Linked DNA regions of Homo sapiens: regions 1, 2, 3, 4 and 5 are each linked to region 6. Evidence: promoter capture Hi-C in 16 types of primary human blood cells and fetal thymus (Javierre and others, 2016). All regions are on one chromosome and are shown on one strand. The core of a region is centred on a gene start or on the middle of the fragment in contact, and the rest is flanking DNA. Distances in the headings are between cores, read along the strand shown. Region 1 has its middle 22 kb from the start of H2AZ2. Region 2 holds the start of MYL7 (myosin light chain 7). Region 3 overlaps GCK (glucokinase). Region 4 has its middle 7.6 kb from the start of MIR4657. Region 5 overlaps CAMK2B (calcium/calmodulin dependent protein kinase II beta). Region 6 holds the start of NUDCD3 (NudC domain containing 3).

Region 1 (3,304 bases), core at 663-3,162, 340 kb after region 6:
GGCGCCCTGTCATACAACAATATGCGGCCTTGTGCCTGGAATCCGTCTATATGCCCATGTCTCCTTCCTTCACTTAGGTTATAAGCTTCTTGAGGGTGGCAGCCAGACAGTAGCAGTTTGTGTGCAAAGCCCCTGCAGTGGCATATGGAAGACTTTCAATACATCAGGACCAGAGGATGAGCTGGAAATGAAATCACACTCACTGGTGGGAGAAAACCAAACTTGATGACAGAGGACCAGTAAAGGAAGCAGCTTGAGTATGTGTCCTCAGATGCAGACACAAGGCCTTGCCTTCCTGGATGAGACAGGCACTGACTGGAGCAGGGTTTGCCAGACTCAAAGGGCCACATTTTAGGGACAGTCTAAAATGTGGTATATGGACAGTCTGGCAGTGGTATGTAGAATGGGTTAAAACTGGAAGACTGGGCTGGGTATGGTGGTGCATGCCTGTAATTCCAGTACTTTGGGAGGCTGAGGCAGGAGGATTGCTTGAGCCCAGGAGTTCAAGACCAGCCTGGACAACACAATGAGACTTTGTCTCTAAAAAAACAAACAAAACTGGGTAATTAGGAGGTGACTACAAGAGCATAGGGAGCTAGTGGAAAATGAAAGGATGTGTGTAAATCTGAAGAAAAGGTCAGAACTGAAGGTCAGAATGTGTGCTCTGCAATGTGTGAATACAGTATGAATGTGCTCCAGGAAGAATATCTGAAACAGATTATCATGAGTTTCCAGAAGTATGTGGCTGTACTCAGAGTTGGGGAAGAAGATAGCAGGAAGTGGGCAGAGGCAGTAAAAGCGGAATGGGGATTGAGGAATTGATGCTCCTGATAAGAGAAAAAAAAGGCAGCTTGTGTGGGAGCAGGAGCAAGTTTTTGACAGGACAGGCTGTCACATAGGGTTTTGCTGCTGAACTCCACCAAGCAAAGCCTTGGAGCAGAGTTCCTCAGCTGCTGAGGTCCACACTCACACTCAGCTGTGGCAGGAGGCTATGGAGTCTACAGGCTTATAGGCAATTCCCAGAGTGTTAGTTTCCCACTGGCATTCTGGGCATGTGAGGGGCTTGTAGGGCTGGGCTGGAGACTAGATGAGCCTGCCTGTGTGCAGGAAGTGCTAAACTGAATACTGAGTGCCAGACTTGCCTGGCTCCATACTAAACAGGGAGTCACGGCTTCTGTCCATCCAGGAAATACATGTACCTCTCATATATACCTATTCCACAAACTCTTTTTGAAAGCCCAGACGATAAATAGGCACAAAGCTACCTAAGCTCAAAAGGCCACCTGGCTCTACATGTGAGACATTAACATGAGGGCTTTATAGATACTTTTCTATATGTGGCCTCAAGCAAACCAGAAGAATGTAAGTGCCATCGCATGTCCACGGGCCAGCTGCAGACCCCCTTGAGCAGACTCGTGACTTTTTGCACTGACCTGGATTTGTGGTCAGACTGACCTGGGTTCAGATTCCTGTGTCACCAACTGGAGCCATGTAACCCTGGGCTTGGGCTAACATCTCTTTTTTTTTTTGAGACAGAGTCTCACTCTGTCACCCAGGCTGGAGTGCAGTGGTACAATCTTGGCTTACTGCAACCTCCATCTCCCAGGTTTAAGCAATTTCTCCCACCTCAGCCTCCCGAGCAGCTGAGACTACAGGTACGTGCTACCATGCCTGGCTCATTTTTGTATTTTTTGGTAGACCTTGTTGGCCAGGCTGGTCTCAAACTCCTGACCTCAAGTGATCCACTTGCCTCCCAAAGTGCTGGAATTACAGGCGTGAGCCACCGCGCCAGGCTGTATCTAACATCTCTGAATCTGAATTTCTTTGCTTGTAAAATGAGGCTGGTATTTATTTCCCAGATTTATTCAGGGGGTTAAATGAGCTAAATCCACATAAGGCAGGCTGGTAGGTTTTCAAAGAAATGTTTAGTGACCTTCCCCTTCCATAGGAAAAAAACTTAAGTTTTGGAGCTAAACAGACCAGATTCTCAGCACTTTCCCATTTCAGATTATGTGACCCTGGGATGTTGAATCATCTTCCTCTGCCTGAATTTCCTCATCTGTAAAATGAAGTATTATTGCCTTCTTGCTGTGGAGATGGAAAACTGAGAGGAGCCTGAGGCTCTTCAGCAGAGTGTGGCCTGAGAGTGGCCAGGGCTGGTTAGGCCCACCCTCTCCTCCAACACCTTCAGAGATGGGAGGACTCACTTTTTCAGTTTCTCCTTCTTCTTCTTTTTTTTAAAGACAGGATTTCACTCTGTTGCTCAGGCTGGAGTGCAGTTGCATGGTCATAGCTCATTGCAGCCTTGACCTCCCAGGCTCAAGCAATCCTACTCAGCCTGCTAAGTAGCTGGGACTACAGGTGTGCACCACCACACCCAGCCCTTTCTCAGAGTTTCTAAAGCTGAAAGCCATCGTCCAGAAATATTTAGTCCATACCTCTTTTTACACAGAATATATTTAATTCCATCATATAAGCTAGGAACAATGTTAACCAACAGAAAATGTGATCACGAGCTACATACAATAGATCAAATGAAGCACACATCCATGAAAAAATCATGCCAATTAAATATACTCTGCATTTCCATTAATATTAGTATGCTATTCTTTGATTTTTTTTGCTGATAAGCAGTCAAAACATTTAAACTCAAAATTGACAAATCAACTAGCTTGCTTTTTGTCATTTGGAAGACTACCATTATTCAAATTTATTATGTAATACACTCATCCAGATAATGAAACATCTGCGAAAAAAAGTGTGGGAATCACCTCATCTGTGCATAAAATGGCTATTATACATGAATGCAGACGTTTGAAGTTAGAAAGGAATATAACTCAAATAGCAAAAGGTCCTAATTACAGAGTTTACAAATAAGCAGTTTTATTTTCAAAAGTACATAGTAAGTCCAGACTGGGCTATTGCCAAAGAACTAATCTTTAGTCTACTTCAACATGTTACATGGTATTCCTGACTCTACAGACTATCAGCATCTGTGGAGGTTAGCTCCTAAAGGTCCCAAAGAACAGGAAACATGCAGGAATAAAGGACTCCTCGTGAAGAGCAGGTGGGAGCGAGTGGGCAGGCCTGTATCTTCTCAGCAAAGTAAGGATTGAGTATAGAGAGCTGTTTGTCTTAACTGGGCTTCCCTGAAGAATCTGAGCCAAACTGGAAGAAACCAGCCTCATTTCCAGTGTTGAGATGTTAGCTGTACAGTGGCTGTACAACTGCAGAGTTTATTTATAGAATTAGAAATAATTTTTTAAAATTTTAAAAGGTTTTGTGTAATCATTAACCAGAGATG
Region 2 (2,981 bases), core at 326-2,825, 350 kb before region 6:
CTCATCTGGCTGGGCCCATACTTACTCATCCTTGTTCACCACCCCTTTGCCGCTGGGGTCAAACATGCGGAAGGCACTCAGGATGGCTTCCTCGGGGTCTGTCCCTGGAAGGCCGAGGCAGCCAGGTGAGCATCCATGTCTCCAGCATCCCAGGTCCCCCGCAGGAGGAACTGGGCTGCATGAGGAGCCTCCCACATCCCAGAAGAGGTGGGGGTATTCCCTAACATAAAATGTTTCTCGGGGATCAGTGGGGCTGGGAATGGTCATCCTCCTGAGGCGGGCAGCTTGGCTGGGAGACTGGAATTTGGGGGTGGGGGCTGAAGGCACATTTCCTGGCTCCAAGTCAGCACTGGGGTGACCAGTGCACATGGGATTCTGGGGCAGAGGATGTGCTTGGAATGGGTCATGGCCAGGAAGAGTCCAGGTGGGTCCAGGTGGGGTTCAGTTAGGGTTCAGGTGGGGTTCATGTAAGGTTCAGGTGGGGTTCAGGCAGGGTTCAGGTGGGGTTCAGGCAGGGTGCAGGCTCCCTGCCTGGCCAAGGGTGCCCAGCTCTGTCCCAGGCTCACCATTGAGCTTCTCCCCAAAGAGCGTGAGGAAGACGGTGAAGTTGATGGGGCCCTTGCCCTCTTGCAGCATGGCGTCCAGCTCCTCCTCTGGGACACTCACCTTCCCTGGTGGGGGTGGGGCATGAGGTGCACACAGGGACCCTGGGTGTCCCCCAGAAGGCCCAGGCCGCCCTCCCTCCATCCTGGCCACAGGGGCTGGAGGGGCAGAGGCAGCTGTGGGTCGGGAAGGTGAAGTGGAAGCAAGGCGTGACAAGGGGGGAAGGGCAGTGTGAGGAGACGGGGAGGAGGGGAAGCAGGGGAGCAGAGTCCTGTCCCCCCAGCCACTCCCACCCGCCCAGCAGCTCAGAGTAGGGACCCCAGTGCGCAGGGTGGGAGGTGGGTGCACGCACCCAGCTGGGAGTAGGTCTCCCTCAGGTCTGCCTTGCAGATGATGCCATCACGATTCTGGTCGATACAGCTGAAGGCCTGTGGGATGGGGGCCTTCAGGTGGGAGCAGCCCCCAGCTCTAGGGAAGGTGGGAGGTGGGGGAGAGACCTGGGTGGTGTGAGAGGCAAGGTCAGGGTAGAAGGGGGGTATGTATGTGGGGTGGGGTGGGGGGGCCAGGATGGGATCTGAGGCTACTGGGAGTGGGCACTCACTTCTTTGAACTCCTGTATCTGGGCTTGTTCAAACATGGAAAAGACGTTGGAAGAACCACGTTGGGCCTGCTTGGTGGCTGCCACCTTGCCCCGGGTCCCCGCCTTCCTGCTGGCCTGCAACACTGTGAGTAGGGAGGGGTCCTCTCCCCAACTCCTCAGAGTCTCCCCACCCCACCCATCATGCACAGTCCCAGAGCATTCCCAGGAGAGCCAGGGCCAGGATCCTCTTCCTCTCCCTGGGGACCACCCTCAACCCAACACAAGCACAGAAAACTCTGCTCCCCCAGCCCAAAGGCCAGCACCTGGGAGACCGCTAGCCTTTCTTCCCCAGCAGGCACTCACCATTCTCTCTGCAGAGGTGTGGCTGCTGTCGTGGTGGCAGGGCCCAGCCTCCTTTATGTCTCAGCCTTATCACCTGAAGGTCCAAATAAGGAGAGGAACAGAGGATAGGCCCAAACTTGGCAGCCCCCGCCTGGGCTGGGGGAGGCCTAACAGATTCCAGCCACATTCCTGATGACCTTCATGTCCTCAACGTGTAACATCCTGCTGTCTATCCATCCTGGCAGGGCCAGACACAATGTCTGCCTGGAGCAGAGCAGGCTCAAAGCTCTCACCACCCTAGGTCCTGATGAAGGGATCCAGTTACTCCTGTATCTGACCACCCCTCCTTGCCAGTCCAGCCAGAACCCTGGCCAGTGCAAGAAGACAGCTGGTGAGGGCCAGTCCAGGGCCCCCGCCAGGCATGGGAGGGCAGTGTGTAGTTCTGAGGATGGTCTGTGGCCTGAGACCCCCGGGGCTTCCCAGAGGTTTTGGTGACCCTAGGCTCTGACCTTTTGCCCCTCTGACCAAGGGGCAGAAGGCATCCCTGAGCTAGCTGTGACCCCAAGAAGAACACTTTGCTTGGCTTTGGGGCAATTCCAGAGGGTTAAGGAGCTCCATCAGCTGCCCTCCCATGCAGTCTACCTTGCTCCCAGTCTGCCCTGCTGTTTGGAGCCTTGCCTTCCTCAAGCCTCATCTCAACCACACTACTTCAGAATGCTCTCCCTAACATCCTCAGCAGGGAGCTTCTGGGGCACATTTCCCATTTGCCTGGTGGCTGATGTGTTTGTCATTCCTGGCTTCTGTGCCCCTCCTGAGCACCCCACCTGGTTGACATCTGTATCCCCAGAAGGCCTGGTGCACAGTGGGCCGATGGGCAGGCCTGCGTGATGCTGTTCCAGAGAAGCAGTCTCGCCAGCTTCTGGGGCCGAGGGCACAGCAGAGGGGCTGGGGAAACAGGGGACATCCTGGAGGCAGCAGGAGTGGGCCACCCCAGGCTGGGCTCACTGGCTGCTGCCCCTCCACTGGAGCCAGACCTATGTCTGTCAGTAGCTGGCTGGTAGAGTGCAGGAGCTCTTATCTGTCAGACCCAATACCCTTTTTATATAACAAGAGTTTTCTTTTAAATTTCTTAAATTCCCTTTTTTTTTTTTGAGACAGAGTCTCACTCTCGCACAGGCTGGAGTGCAGTGGCGCGATCTCAGCTCACTGCCACCTCTGCCTCCCGGGTTCAAGCCATTCTTGTTCCTCAGCCTCCCAAGCAGCTGGGATTATAGGCATGTGCCACCACACCCAGCTAATTTTTATATATATTTTTTATTTTATTTTATTTTTAGTAAAGACGGGGTTTTATCATGTTGGCCAGCCGGTCTCGAACTCCTGATCTTAGGTGATCTGCCTGCTTCAGCCTCCCAAAGTGCTAGGATTACAGGTGTAAGCCACTGAGCTCTGTCACCCA
Region 3 (3,247 bases), core at 176-2,675, 330 kb before region 6:
CATGTGCCTCCTTCCAAGGTGCCCCAAGCCTGCTCGCCTTCCCTGCCCCCAGCCTTAGTTTTGGTAATCTGCAAAACCAAGGGCCCTGCCCTGGGTGCTGCTCTCCCAGTGCAAAGTCCCTAACTTTGGTGTGACCCTTACCAGAGTCAAGGCTGTCTGGGCCTGGCTCCTTGTGACATCCATCGCCATCTCTCCGAGGGGCTAAGAGGTAGATGCTTTGGGAGGCAGAGATGCTCCTGCCTGCTGAGGCCTAGCACATGCTGTAGCCTTGGAGCGTAAGGCCCGCCTGTGGCAGCAACGGCTGCTTGGATGGAGAGCTGCCTGAGGCTGGCAGCCCAGGGCTTCTGCACTGAAAGGGCTCAGCCTGGCGGCTGCTCAAATACTCTGCCCCCTGCCATGGGGTCAGAGGCAGGGCAGAAAGGGAGGGTAGGCCATGTGGGTAACAGTTGACAGGGCCACGGGGACAGAGCCATGGGGCAGCCGGCCACACTCTGTGAACATGGGGTAGGGATTGCTGCCCAGCAGGAGGGGGTGTGCAGAGCCAGCCTACCCATCTTCCATTCCTCAGCCTTGTGCGGGCAGAAAGTCACCAGGCTGCCTTGGCCACAGAACACTTACTGAAATGCCCTTGGACAGGGAGGGGGTCCTAAGGGGGCCTGGCCCGCGCTGGTGCAGGTCTGGACTTGCTCTTGGAGGCAAGGGGATCCCCAGTGGATTTTCATCTGCAGAGAGGTTCGATTTGCATTTCATACAATCCAGGGGTCTGTATGGAACTTGGGGAAGGGGTGGTGGAGGAAGGTGGCCAACTGATCAAAAACAAACAAAAAACAGGGGTATCATTCTTAATTTTGTGACTGCAAAGTCCAGGCCTCAGGCTTGCTTTGGGTGCCTCCATGGGCATAGACCATGACTTCCAGGCTCTGGCCCAGGCCTCTCCTTGGGCTCACCTGGGAGTGACATCCACATGCTATGTACTTGCTGGCACCTGCCAAAGCCTGCTAAAATTAGCTGGAGCTGGCAAGTGGGTCAGGGTATGGAGGGTGCCTTGTCAGAATGCCAGGTCTCTCGCCAATGGCCAGAGTGATCACTCCCAAGAAAGCCCTTGATACAATTGATCCCTTTCCCAATATAGAGCAGAGATGGCCTCATCAGATCTCATGTGACAGGCCACTGACCCCCACAGCCCCCAGCTCTGAGCTACTGTTTGCTCATGGGGGCAGGGCTCACACCCAGGTTTGGAGTGGCACTGGGGCCTTCTGGTTCAGCCAGGCCAAGAAGCAGCCACCCAGCGAGACTTGCCCTTCTTCTGGGCCAAGCACACAGCACAGGGGAGGAGAATCTAAATTCAGTTCTCAAGAAAGGCTGAGGATGTGTACAAAGCCTGAAGCTGAGGCAAGTGGGCCCCCTTTCTTGGTTGACTGAACTGCCAGTGCCCTCTCTAGCCTCTATTTAGAGCAACAGGCATCCCCTAGAGTTCCTTTCTGGGAGCCACCTGCTGATATTCATTGGCATCCATGAGGCCAGAAAGCGGCCCAACACCCCTACTTCCCCACACCGTCTAATTCTCCGGGACCAGATTCTCATGACTCATGCCAGCCCTCCTGGGCACCCACCCTTGTCCTGTCTCAGTGCCTCTTCTTCAGGATAAGGGGTGACACCAACAGTCTGTACTGCACTGGAGTTGAGAGTCATTGTAGCAGGAACAGTTCCTGCTTTCCAGGAATTTTGGAAGGGCAAGACTGTCCAGAACCTGTCCAGAGAAGAGGGGCCAAGAAGGGGAGGGCCTCAGAGATGATGGCTCATGGAGGATGACCAGGACATGCTTAGAGTCTTCAGTAGCTCAAGGGCTGTCCCGAGGAGGATGGATGAACATTGTTTCTGCTTAGAGCTTTCTAAAAAGACAGAACTGTGCAGCTGTGGGCTAGGATGTCTCAGTAGATAGTGAACTCCCCATTTCATGGGGAGAGAAAGACAAGAGCAGAATCAGAAGGGACCTTGCTCTATGTCCCAGTGGTACCCCCATTTCTTAGTTGCTCAGGGTTCTGATTGACAGACATGACTTGATTTTCTTTTTCATTCATCAAAAGAAAATAATATGACAAGTTTGGTGATGGATATTCAAGATGATTAATTCTACTATCAAAAAACGAGACACAACCCACATACCCAACTACAGGAGGTTGGTTAAATAAATTATGCTACACTTACATGTAGTCATTAAAAATGGTAAGATTCATCTGCTCTATTGGCATGGAAAGATGTTCATGACATACTGTTGAAAGGGAATGTGTAGCCGCCCTTGAAGCTGGCCTTCAATTAGCCCTGCTTCTGGTATTCACCCCATGGTATAGTCTCTTCCATGCAGAATAGGTCTAGCCTGTGTAACTAATATGATAATGCAGAAATGGTGGAGTATGACTTTGGAGCCTAAGCCAGAAAAGACCCTGTGGTTTCTGCCTTGTTCTCTCCTGGACTGTTCCCTCTGGGGGAAGCCAACTGCTATGCTATGAGGTTGCCTACAAGAACTCTGGGAAGATCCATTGAGAAGAAGCGAAGTCTCTTGCCAATACGCAACTCCAACTTGCCAGCCATGTGAGTGGACCACTTTGGAAGCAGCTCCTCTGGCCCCAGTCAAGCCTTCAGGTGATGCAGCCCCAGCCAAAACCCTGACCTCAGGAGAGACACCAAGCCAGACCACCCAGCTAAGCTGCTTCTGAATTCTTGACCTACAGAAACTGTGTGAGATAACAAAGGTTTGTTGTTTCAAGCTACTATGGTTTTTTTTAAAAACACTTTATGAAATAAAATTTTGTTATTACAGAACAAATAAGTTTAGAAACCATTTTCTATCTTTTAGCATATGATCCAGATATAAGACAGTGTCATACCACATTCTTGTCATCATAATACACGGAAAGGTGAAGCCACTAAGTTTTGAGGCAGTTTGTTATACAGCAATAGATGACTAACACAGGGGAAGAACAGGAAACATAGTATGATCCATTTTTGTCGTATATACGATATAGATAATATATGTATTGGGAGGAAATATACCAAAATGGTGACAGTAATTATCTTGATGATGGTGGTATGAGGATTTTAATTTATTTTCCTTTTTGCTTATCTGTATTTCCTACCTTTTCTGCAGTAAATGGGTATTAATGGAGTAATATTTAACAATGAAGTTAAAAAAAGAAAGGTTGAGCCTTATCTGCCATTTTGCACAGAAGCAAGCCTGGAGGCCCAG
Region 4 (2,980 bases), core at 233-2,732, 380 kb after region 6:
TGTAAAAATGAGTTGCATTAATTTTGTAATAAAAGAAAGTTTGGAGACTATAACTTCAAAAAAGAAAAGAAATGGCCACCAACTATAAGGGGTACTGAGTAAATGAGGCAAAGGATAGGATGATTTTGAGTGTGAGGACAGTGTAGGGTTGCGTGGAGGAATTCCTGGTACAGTCCTGCATGTGAGAAGGTGGGGAAGTGTGTGTGAGGGTTGAGTCTAGGGCAATCTCTGTGTTACCCACAGGCTTGAGAGACTTAGTCCATTCTCTCCAACCTCTGTTCTACAAACTACCAGTGGATTTGTTGTGTCATCTCAGACACACAGTATAGGAGTAAGAAGTTTGTCCTTTCTATAACAACATGGTGTCATGTCAAGAGAGCTAATTTAGATGTATGTTTGCTGTTGTCATTAACTAGTTTGGAGACCTTAATTAGGTCCACTGAGGGGTCTACATAAGGTACCATGGATGTCTAAGATAAGTTAAACATCTGTCTTGTGTAGGGAGTATTTCCTTTTCTTTTAAATTTAAATGGGGCTGTCTCTTGTAAGGAGCAAATGTCTGGGTCAGGAACGATGTTGCAAATCAAATTATCTATTGCTTGAATGGAGGCCTGGTTAGTAGCTAGGGAGACTAGTTCTTCCTAAAAGCTTTCTCTTCTTTCTCCCGACCCACTAAACTATAAGTCCCATATGAACGACAACCGTATCCTCTACCCTAGTACAATACCTGGAATATAGCAGCTACCCAATAATTAACTGAATGAATTTACAAACGATCTGAGCTAAGAATTGTTATTAAAAGATTTTGGGGCTGGGCGTGGTGGCTTACGCCTGTAATCCCAGCACTTTGGGAGGCTAAGGCAGGTGGATCATGAGGTCAGGAGTTCAAGACCAGCCTGGCCAACTTGGTGAAACCCAGTCTCTACTAAAAATAAAAAGAAAAAATTAGCTGGGCATGGCGGCGGGCGCCTGTAATCCCAGCTACTCAGGAGGCTGAGGCAGAAAATTGCTTGAACCCAGGAGGTGGAGGTTGCAGTGAGCTGAGATCACGCCACTACACTCCAGCCTGGGTGACAGAGTGAGACTATGTCTCAAAAAAAAAAAAAAAAAAAGATTTTGGTACTGAAGGTACTTGCCCAAAATCAGACTGTTAGTTTAGAACAGTCAGGGATAGTCATGACATGAAAAAATACAAAAACTATAAAGGTAATAGCCCTGTTCCTGCAGGCATTTGCTCTAATGCAGCTCTTCAGGCTGTAGCCTGGCTGCATCTATTGTTTAAACTTGTACAGTAACAAACTTCACATGAATCTGAAAAATTCAAACCATCTACAGGGTTTCTAGTGAACCAAACCCAGCCTCAGCAGCACTACAGCAGACTAACTCATCAGGGCAAATACTTCCTGAGACCTGTGTCAGTTGGCAACTAAGCTAATTCTTTCCATAACTTTTGTTGATTTCTGCAGTTAGTCCCCAAGCATGGTCCTCAAATCAGCAGGATCAGCATTATCTGGGAACTTGTTAGAAATGCAACTTAAGGCTGGGCACGGTAGCTCACGCCTATAATCCCAGCACTTTGGGAGGCTGAGGCGGGTGGATCACCTGAGGTCAGGAGTTTGGGACCAGCCTGGCCAACATGGAGAAACCCTGTCTCTACTAAAAATACAAAAATTAGCTGGGCACAGTGGCACGTGCCTGTAATCCCAGCTACTCGGGAGGCTGAGGCAGGAGAATCACTTGAACCTGGGAGGTGGAGGTTGCAGTGAGCCGAGATCGTGCCATTGCACTCCAGCCTGGGCAACAAGAGTGAAACTCTGTCTCAAGGGGAAAAAAAAAAAAAAGAAATGCAACTTAAGTTCCCTCTAGAACTGCTAAATCAGAAACTCAGTAATCCATGTTTTAACCAGCCCTCTAAGTGACTCCGATGCATGCTAAGGGTTCCTCTGTGCTAGTAAAACCCCAGATTTTCCCAGGGAGGGACTACTAATATCAATACTGAAGGATTCCATTTACAAACTTTTCTCAAGATGAGTTATTTTAGAGGTTTAAGTGGTAATTTAGGCACAGTGGTTGGGAGGTGAAAGCCATACATTCAAGGAATGTTCTGCTATACTCTTTTGTTTTCCTCTGGCAGAGATTCCCAACCCTTTTCCCTTCTTTATACCTTAAAATCCCACAGGCCACTGGTTTCACCCCTGACTGTAGGCTAGAATCACCTTGGGGAACTCAAAAAGGCAAAGCATTACCAAAAAACTCCATGTCTGTGTCTCAAAGATTGATTCAGTTGGTCTATGGTGGTGCCTGGGCATCAGTATTCAAAGCTTTCCAGGTGGTTCTGCAGCCAGCATTGAGAACCACTTAAGAGATTGTAGAAATGGACAATCACAGGAAAGTTATGTATGTTGTGTGTTGGGGGGGCTGGGGGCGGTGTAGGCATTTCGTAGCAGGAGCTTCTAATATAAAGAAAATATACGAGAACTAAAGGATTAAGCTATCTATACATAAAAAACCATCCCTCATTTTCAGAAAGGCACTATTTACTTATTAGTCTAGTTAGTGGTTCTCAAGAGTGTGATCCAGAATCCCCTAGGGTTGCCCGAGACTCAGGAGCCCAAGAGGTCAAAACTATGTTCATAAGAACATTCGCATTTTCCACTTTCATTCTTTCATAAATTTACAGTGGAGTTTTCCAGAGGCTATGACATTATCATGTAATTGCTCTGATAGCTGATGGAATGTGTGCTTGTTATTTTTGTCTGGAAAATGTTTCAGCTTCTTGGCCGGCGCGGTGGCTCACGCCTGTAATCCCAACACTTTGGGAGGCTGAGATGGGTAGATCACGAGGTCAGATTAAGACCATCTTGGCCAACATGGTAATACCCTGTCTCTACTGAAATACAAAAAATTAGCCGGGCGTGGTGGCACGTGCCCGTAATCACAACTACTTGGGAGGCTGAGGCAGGGGAATCGCTTGAACCCA
Region 5 (3,306 bases), core at 263-2,762, 260 kb before region 6:
CCCCACACCCTTCTGCCCTGGCCGCCTGCAGCAGCCCCCAGGCCCAGCCTGCAGAGGGGACGGTGGCAAGCAGACCCCACCTGTCCCTCAAGTACTTACCTAGCCACTGCCCTGCCATGCCGAGCCCGTGGCCCAGCAGCCTCTTCTCTAAGAGTATCTCCACACCACCCCCAGTCTGGTGTCTCCCCACAGGTGGGGGTGGCAGCAGCCCTGGGATGTCATCCATCCCTGTAAGTGATACTGCGGGTAGTCGGCAGACAGACCGGGAGGTGGCCCAGCCTGGCTCCTCCCTGGCCGGGGAGGCTGCCCAGCCTGTGCTTCCTGTCCCGCCCGCTCTGTTTCAGCCTGGCCCCAGCTGCCCCCCAGATCCGCGCCTCCCGATCCCCACCTGCTCCCTGCTGTCTGGACTTGGACAGCTCTAATGCTAGAGCGTCTCAGGCCGGGACTGACACTTTTCTGTCCCGGCCCAGCAGGTCCACCTTGACCCAAGCCAGCAGCTCCTGGCGTGCTAGCCCTTGCCACACGCGCAGACCCTTTGCCACCCATTCCCCTCCCATCAGGAGAAAGCTGTGGACCTCAGGGTTGCGAATGCTGGGGTCGGCAACAAACCTGCTCTTTCGGACGCTCTTCCTATACACATATGTCATACACACTTCATAACCATAACCTCCATTTTCTGAGACCCAGTGGCACCTTCATGTGCTTCAAAGCAATTCCCTGGGACCCAGCAGAGGGATCCTGTGCCCCGCCCTCCTCCGCAAGAATGGCCCTTCCCAGAGCACCACTGCCAGGCTCGCACGCCCCGAGCCCCTCCGGGCAGCCGCTGCCACGGCCACTCAAGGTGCTACTTACATGGGGTGGGCAGGGGGCCAGGGATAGTCGGAGATGGGCAGGGCGGGGGCCCCACTGGCGAGGGGCCCTCGGCTTCTGGGGTCCCTGAGCCCCTCCTCACAGAGTTCAGGATGTCAGAGATCCTGGGGGCTGGGGCGGAACAGACGAGACGTGAACACAAGGCAGGCACGGGGGGCACGCAGGAGAGAAACCATGGGCAGACAGCCAAGCCAGAGATTGAGGGGCACAGAGGCAGATGTGGGGGATGGGGCACAAGGGGACAGAGGGGAGGAAGGGAGAATGGGGGGGTGTGGGGGGAAGATGGTGGACCTGGGCCGACAGAGGGGATATAGGGGAAAGAAGGGGATGTGGGGGATGGAGGGGAGCTTGGGGGACAGAGAGGGAAACGGGAAATGGAGGAGACGTGGGAGACAGAAGGGAACGTGGGGGACAGAGGGGCATGTGGGGGGACAAAGTGGGGGTGTAGGGGATGGGGGGCATGAGGGGACCAAGGTGGGTGTGGGGGACAGAGGGGGGTGTGGAAGACAGAGGGGGTGTGGGGGACAGAAGGGGTCATGGGGGATGGGGGTGCGTGAGGGGACCAAGGTGGATGTGGGGGACAGAGGGAGTGTGGAGGACAGAGGGGGATGTGGGGGACAGAGAGAGGTGCAGGGGACAGAGGAGGGTGCAGGGGACAGAGGAGGGTGCAGGGGACAGAGGGGGATGTGGGGGACAGAGGGGAAGTGGAAGACAGAGGGGGTGTGGGGGACAGAAGGCGGTGTGGGGAACAGAGGGGGAGGTGGGGGACAGAGGAGAGTATGGGGGACAGAGGGGGTGTGGGGGACAGAAGGGGGTGTGGAAGACAGGAGGTGTGGGGGACAGACGGAGTGTGGGGGACAGAGGGAGAGTCTGGGGGACAGAGGGGGTGTGGGGGACAGGAGGGGGTGTGGAAGACAGAGGAAGTGTGGGGGACAGAAGGGGGTATGGGGGGCAGGGGGTGGAGGACAGAGGAGGGTGTGGGGGACAGAGGGGGATATGGGGGACAGAGGGAGTGTAGGGGACAGAGGAGGGTCTGGGGGGCAGAGGGAGAGTGTGGGGGACAGGGGGTGTGGGGGACAGAGGGAGTGTGGGGGACAGAGGAGGGTCTGGAGGACAGAGGGAGAGTGTAGGGAACAGAGGGGGTGTGGGGGACAGAAAAGGGCGTGAAGGGACCAAGGTGGGTGTGGGGGACAGAGGGGTATATGGGGGACAGAGGAGGGTGTGGGGGACAGAGGGAGAGTCTGGGGGACAGAGGAGGGTGTGGGGGACAGAGGGAGAATGTGAGGGGCAGAGCAGAGTTTGGGGAGGAAAATGGAAATGAGGGAAAGAGGGGAATTTGGGGGACAGAGGGGGATGTAGGGATAGAGCGTGGACTTAGGGGGACGTGGAGAGGTTGTAGGCTGACCGAGGGGGATATGGGGGGACGGAGGGAGACAGGGGGACAGAGGGTGCTGCTGCGGACAGCGTGGTGCGTGGAGAGGAGGCTGCAGGAGTGAAGGGCAGATGCTCTGGCTGTCGGGTGGCGTGGGCTGAAGCTGCTGGGGGCAGAGGGCACCCTCCAGGGAGAGGCTGCTGGCCAGCAAGAAGCTGTCAGGTAAGTGGCCCTTGAGGAACGCTGGACGGGGTTACAGGGAGAGGAGGGAGTCACGGGCGTTACAGAGGAGGCCTGGCCTGGCCCCATGAGGACAGCCCAGGTCAGCAGAGGCCAGGCTTATGATTCTCCGTACTATCCCCTTGTTGGTGAGCTCCAGAGACCCTGGTCGGGGTTCCAGTTTTGGCACCTTCCTCAGCCTCCTAGACTGAGGGAGGGTGCTCAGGGGTTGGGGCCACATCAGGAACCAGGGTGGCCCTGAGTGCAGCTCCTGGGCACCATGGGCAGGGCCCCTGGGTGGGTGTGAAGTCTGTGGGGCTGGGACAGTGATCAGCAGAGAGGGCCTAGGGGCATGGGGGGCCTCGGAGGGGCCAGGGCTGCCCAGGGCTGGGACAGACATTTTGGAGAGGGGCCTGGGGCTGGACAGCGAGCGGGGAGTGGCAGTGGGAGCAGGAGCCGTGGAGGGGTCTGGGCCCCTTAGGGAGAAGCCAGGAGCTGCCCTGCTGGTTAGCATGGGAGCCCACAGGAAGCCCCGCCAGGGCAGGACTCCAGGCTGCGGCGCCGGGGCAGGGTAGCTGGGCCGTGCATGCAGGTGGGAAGCTGCTGAGCGCCGGCCATTCGCAGGGAGCTGTCCGGCAGCAGAGGCGGCAGGCCTGGGGGCCACTACTTACACGGGGAGGACAGGGGGCCTAGGAGAGCCGGAGACAGGCAGGGCGGGGGCCCCGCTGAGAGGGGGCCCTCGGCTTCTGGGGTTCCTGAACCCCTTCTCACAGAGTTCAGGATGTCAGAGATCCTGGGGGCTGGGGTGGAACAGATGAGACGTGAACATGAGGCAGACAGACACA
Region 6 (3,326 bases), core at 507-3,006:
GTTATATTAAGGGTTAAATAAGATAACGACCCCAGAATATAAAACATCTGATACTATACATATTACTCAGTATATACTCCTTTCTCCTCCACATCTTTCTGCAAACTACAATCAATCTAGACAAAAGTGTTCTCATCCTACTATGGAATGGTTAAACAACAGAACAGGAAGATTTGGAATCCACAAAATGAAATTTTTAGTTTCAGCTCTACGGTGAACTGGCTGTGTGTTCTTGGTCAAATCACTTAACCTTGCTGAATTGGTACGTAAACTTGAAACTTATCTGTTTCACAGAGACACTGAAGATCAAATGGCAAGACTTCATTAACCTGCCATAAGATCCTGCTAAAGGCCACCTCCAACAGCTCTCTCATCACTAAGATGGCACTTATGCCACTGACAAGGACGAGGAATAGCCTTAAGTTCTGAAATTGAATCCTAATGGAACCCCATTCCTCGTTTGGCCCTATTACCCTGGTAGCTACCAAGACATTCAAAGCTTTGGCTTCTGCTGAGGAAAGTAACATCTTACCAACCTGCAGCATGCATTAAGACTTCAGGAGGAAACATCTGAAGCATTTTATAAACTGTAACATCTAGAGAACTGAGGGAGGTATCATCAGCATTTCTATCTTCTTGGGTTTCTACAAATAGGCTTAATACTTGGCTGAATAGTTTCTTTTAATCTCATCAGAAGTCCCACCTCTCTTATAAAAACTTCACTTCTCAACCATCATTTCTATTTCCTTTCTTTACAATGGGCTCCATCAAATAATTGCCCTTAAAAAGTTTTCTATTACTTTCTGGGTTTTCTCTCTTTAACTGTGTCACAAGGAGAGAGAAACCATTACTTAAACACCCGTATCACCCTCACCTGCGGCAACTAAGAGTGTAAACTACATTCAGCAAAAGGTTGCTTACCACTACATTCAAAAGTGCCCAGTCAACTTCACTGAATGAGTATTGACAGCGTTTCCAACATACAATAAACTTAACCTGGAGGGTACGGAATTAAGCTCAAATAGAAATTTTAATAAGCACTACATTGACAGTCTTTGACCTGGGAAGTCACATTTCAAACAAGCGACCACACCCATTGATCAACACAATGCCTCCGTCATCCCCGCCAGCTCAAGTCTTTGGTAGTTCTGGGGCATGCACGTTTCTGTTGCTGTAAATGTCCTTCCTTCTGTCTGGCCTGCATGGATTTCGCTCCCTGACTAGCGGCCCCCAGCACCGTGAGGGGTACGCGCTGGCGGGTGCTGAGTAGGGCTCTTAACAGTCGGCTTACTACTTCTGAAACCTCAGGACGTCCGGAGCGAACACCTCAGCGGAATAAGCTGACATCCAATCCGCGCTTCAAATTACTGAAGCCATTCTCACAAGCTCAACCCCAGGACACCAGGAAAAGGAGGAAACAGGCTGGGAGAGCTTGGAGGAGCGGGCGCCAGGAGTCAGGGCAGGCCGGGGGCGGCGGCTCCCCAGACCGCAGGCCCGCCCGCCTCACCTGCAGCACCAAGGCCTGCGCGGCCCCGGGCGGGAAGCCCATGCGGTCCGATGGGTGGCGCAGCAAGCGATAGAAGTCTGTCTTGCGGTAGAGGAAGCCAAAGAGAACGCGCAGGAAATCCTGGACGTTGCCCACGTGCTGCAGGATGCCCAAAAGGGCCTGGTCATACAGCTCGGCCGCCCCTGTCTCCATGTCGCCTCCCGCCCTAGGTACGCTTCACACACACAGCGCCGCCTCAGACCTGCCGACTGGCCACTTCCGGCGTCCGCAGCCAACGGCTCCGCCGGACGGCGCGGCTGCGGAACTTCCGGTCCGTGCTCGTTCGGCCCCCGCGGCCCCGGGCTGTTTTCCCCAGACCCAGCTGCCCCACGGGCTTTGCCTTGAGGTGGTCTTAGACAAAAGAGCCCGACAAGGGCAGCAAGGAGGTTCCTACGCGGAAGGAAGCCCGTGGCTTCTGCTGCGCTGCGAGGGCTTGACCGCCATGTTTGAAGCGGGCGGAAAAAAATTATGGGGCGTGCAGTGTCACGTGACTGCTCGGATTTTTGTCACGTTGTCTGTGGATCCTTTCTTATTTCTGTGTTGAATTCCAGCCTGGGTATTTGGAACCTATGGTTAAAGATGGGGCTAGGGTAAGCTTTTTGTTAGTGAGCCAGAGACGGGAAAATGCGTATATGTGGGATGTATGGGTTTCTTATTAACAGATCTGTGAGTTAAACTCAGGGCGTTGCATCAGAAGAAAGTCAAGATGACGAAGAAAATAAAGAGTGCATTCAACGTATATTAAGTGGAAAGAGCTAGATTCAGAATAGAGAATCCGTATGCCATCGTTGTGAAATATGTACGTGTATGTGTGTGTATAGTATGTATATACATATATACGTCATATATACATATGTTGTTAGTGTCTGTCAAAGTATAATCTTAAAAAAGTAAAAAGCATGACACTCATACAAATATATCATGAACACATATCCAAGATTTCTTCAGCAAATTAACAATGATATGGTAAAGCTGGTTCAAAAGCATTTTGAGGAAGTGGAGATTAAACATTTTGACAAAGCATTAGAGTAAGATTAGGTTGGATACAAAGCTGGCTGGTGTTCTACAAGATGATAAAACCATAGATTATCATTTCTAGTGTATAGAAATGATTTGCACCTCTTCTAGATTAAAACATGCAAGTTAACATGTCTTCATAGTGTATAAGCTTTAATGAATTGTAAATAAAATCCAACTCAGGTAAATTGCCCTAGAACAGTGGTTCTGAAACTCTTGATTTAGGGACCATTAATCCTCTTAAAATTTGTTGAACATTCCAAAGAACATTTGTTGATATGGGTTATGCTTATCAATATTTACCACATTAGAAATTAAAACATAAAATGTTTAAATATTTATTTAATCATTTTTAAATGACCATAAAACACATTACATGTTAACATACTTTTATGCAAAAAATAATGTTCTTCAAAGCAATAAAAGTTCAGTGAGAGGAGTAACATAGTTTTACATTTTTGCAAATCTCTTTAATGAGCCTACTAGAAGACAGCAAGATTTGGCCGGCACAGTAGCTCATGCTTGTAATCCCAGCACTTTGGGAGGCCGAGGCGGGAGGATCAGGAGTTCGAGACCAGCCTGGCCAACACAGTGAAACCCTGTCTCTACTAAAAATACGAAAATTAGCTAGGCGTGATGGCAGGTGCCTGTAATCCCAGCTCCTCTGGAGGCTGAGGCAGGAGAATCGCTTGAACCCGGGAGGCAGAGGTTGCAGTGAGCCGAGATCACACCACTGCATTCCAGCCTGGGCGACAGAGCTAGA

The links. Contacts are between HindIII fragments. The CHiCAGO score rates a contact against its expected background, and 5 or more counts as called.
Region 1: a contact is called between a fragment that was not itself captured here and the fragment with the promoter of NUDCD3 in region 6, in 1 of 17 cell types (monocytes). The highest score is 5.5, in monocytes.
Region 2: the fragment with the promoter of MYL7 here is called in contact with the fragment with the promoter of NUDCD3 in region 6 in 16 of 17 cell types (fetal thymus, M1 macrophages, activated CD4 T cells and 13 more); the score reaches 16.1 in fetal thymus.
Region 3: a contact is called between a fragment that was not itself captured here and the fragment with the promoter of NUDCD3 in region 6, in 5 of 17 cell types (M0 macrophages, M1 macrophages, endothelial precursors and 2 more). The highest score is 7.5, in M0 macrophages.
Region 4: a contact is called between a fragment that was not itself captured here and the fragment with the promoter of NUDCD3 in region 6, in 1 of 17 cell types (naive B cells). The highest score is 5.3, in naive B cells.
Region 5: a fragment that was not itself captured here is called in contact with the fragment with the promoter of NUDCD3 in region 6 in 5 of 17 cell types (endothelial precursors, M0 macrophages, M1 macrophages and 2 more); the score reaches 12.9 in endothelial precursors.

What each region holds. Positions count from the first base shown.
Region 1 is chr7:44,824,350-44,827,653 of GRCh38, forward strand. It overlaps a transcript of H2AZ2 not described here. Among named protein-coding and RNA genes, the nearest start is that of H2AZ2, 22 kb to the right of the region's middle. The HindIII fragment of the contact is 3,658 bases long and covers 84-3,304 here.
Region 2 is chr7:44,139,757-44,142,737 of GRCh38, forward strand. MYL7 (myosin light chain 7) reads right to left here and starts at 1,576. Exons shown (of 7, transcript NM_021223.3): 1 at 1,547-1,576; 2 at 1,205-1,318; 3 at 956-1,031; 4 at 567-671; 5 at 26-104. The coding sequence starts at 1,549. RefSeq lists an enhancer at 388-1,230. The HindIII fragment of the contact is 19,152 bases long and covers 1-2,981 here.
Region 3 is chr7:44,158,932-44,162,178 of GRCh38, forward strand. The region is part of intron 1 of GCK (glucokinase); the gene reads right to left. Among named protein-coding and RNA genes, the nearest start is that of MYL7, 19 kb to the left of the region's middle. The HindIII fragment of the contact is 6,327 bases long and covers 1-3,247 here.
Region 4 is chr7:44,872,708-44,875,687 of GRCh38, forward strand. No RefSeq gene overlaps it. Among named protein-coding and RNA genes, the nearest start is that of MIR4657, 7.6 kb to the right of the region's middle. The HindIII fragment of the contact is 1,673 bases long and covers 647-2,319 here.
Region 5 is chr7:44,225,664-44,228,969 of GRCh38, forward strand. CAMK2B (calcium/calmodulin dependent protein kinase II beta) reads right to left here. Exons shown (of 24, transcript NM_001220.5): 19 at 3,133-3,261; 20 at 853-981. Among named protein-coding and RNA genes, the nearest start is that of YKT6, 26 kb to the left of the region's middle. The HindIII fragment of the contact is 6,943 bases long and covers 1-3,306 here.
Region 6 is chr7:44,488,902-44,492,227 of GRCh38, forward strand. It overlaps NUDCD3 (NudC domain containing 3), which reads right to left and starts at 1,757. Exons shown (of 6, transcript NM_015332.4): 1 at 1,508-1,757. The coding sequence starts at 1,699. RefSeq lists a silencer at 1,339-1,508. The HindIII fragment of the contact is 1,642 bases long and covers 498-2,139 here.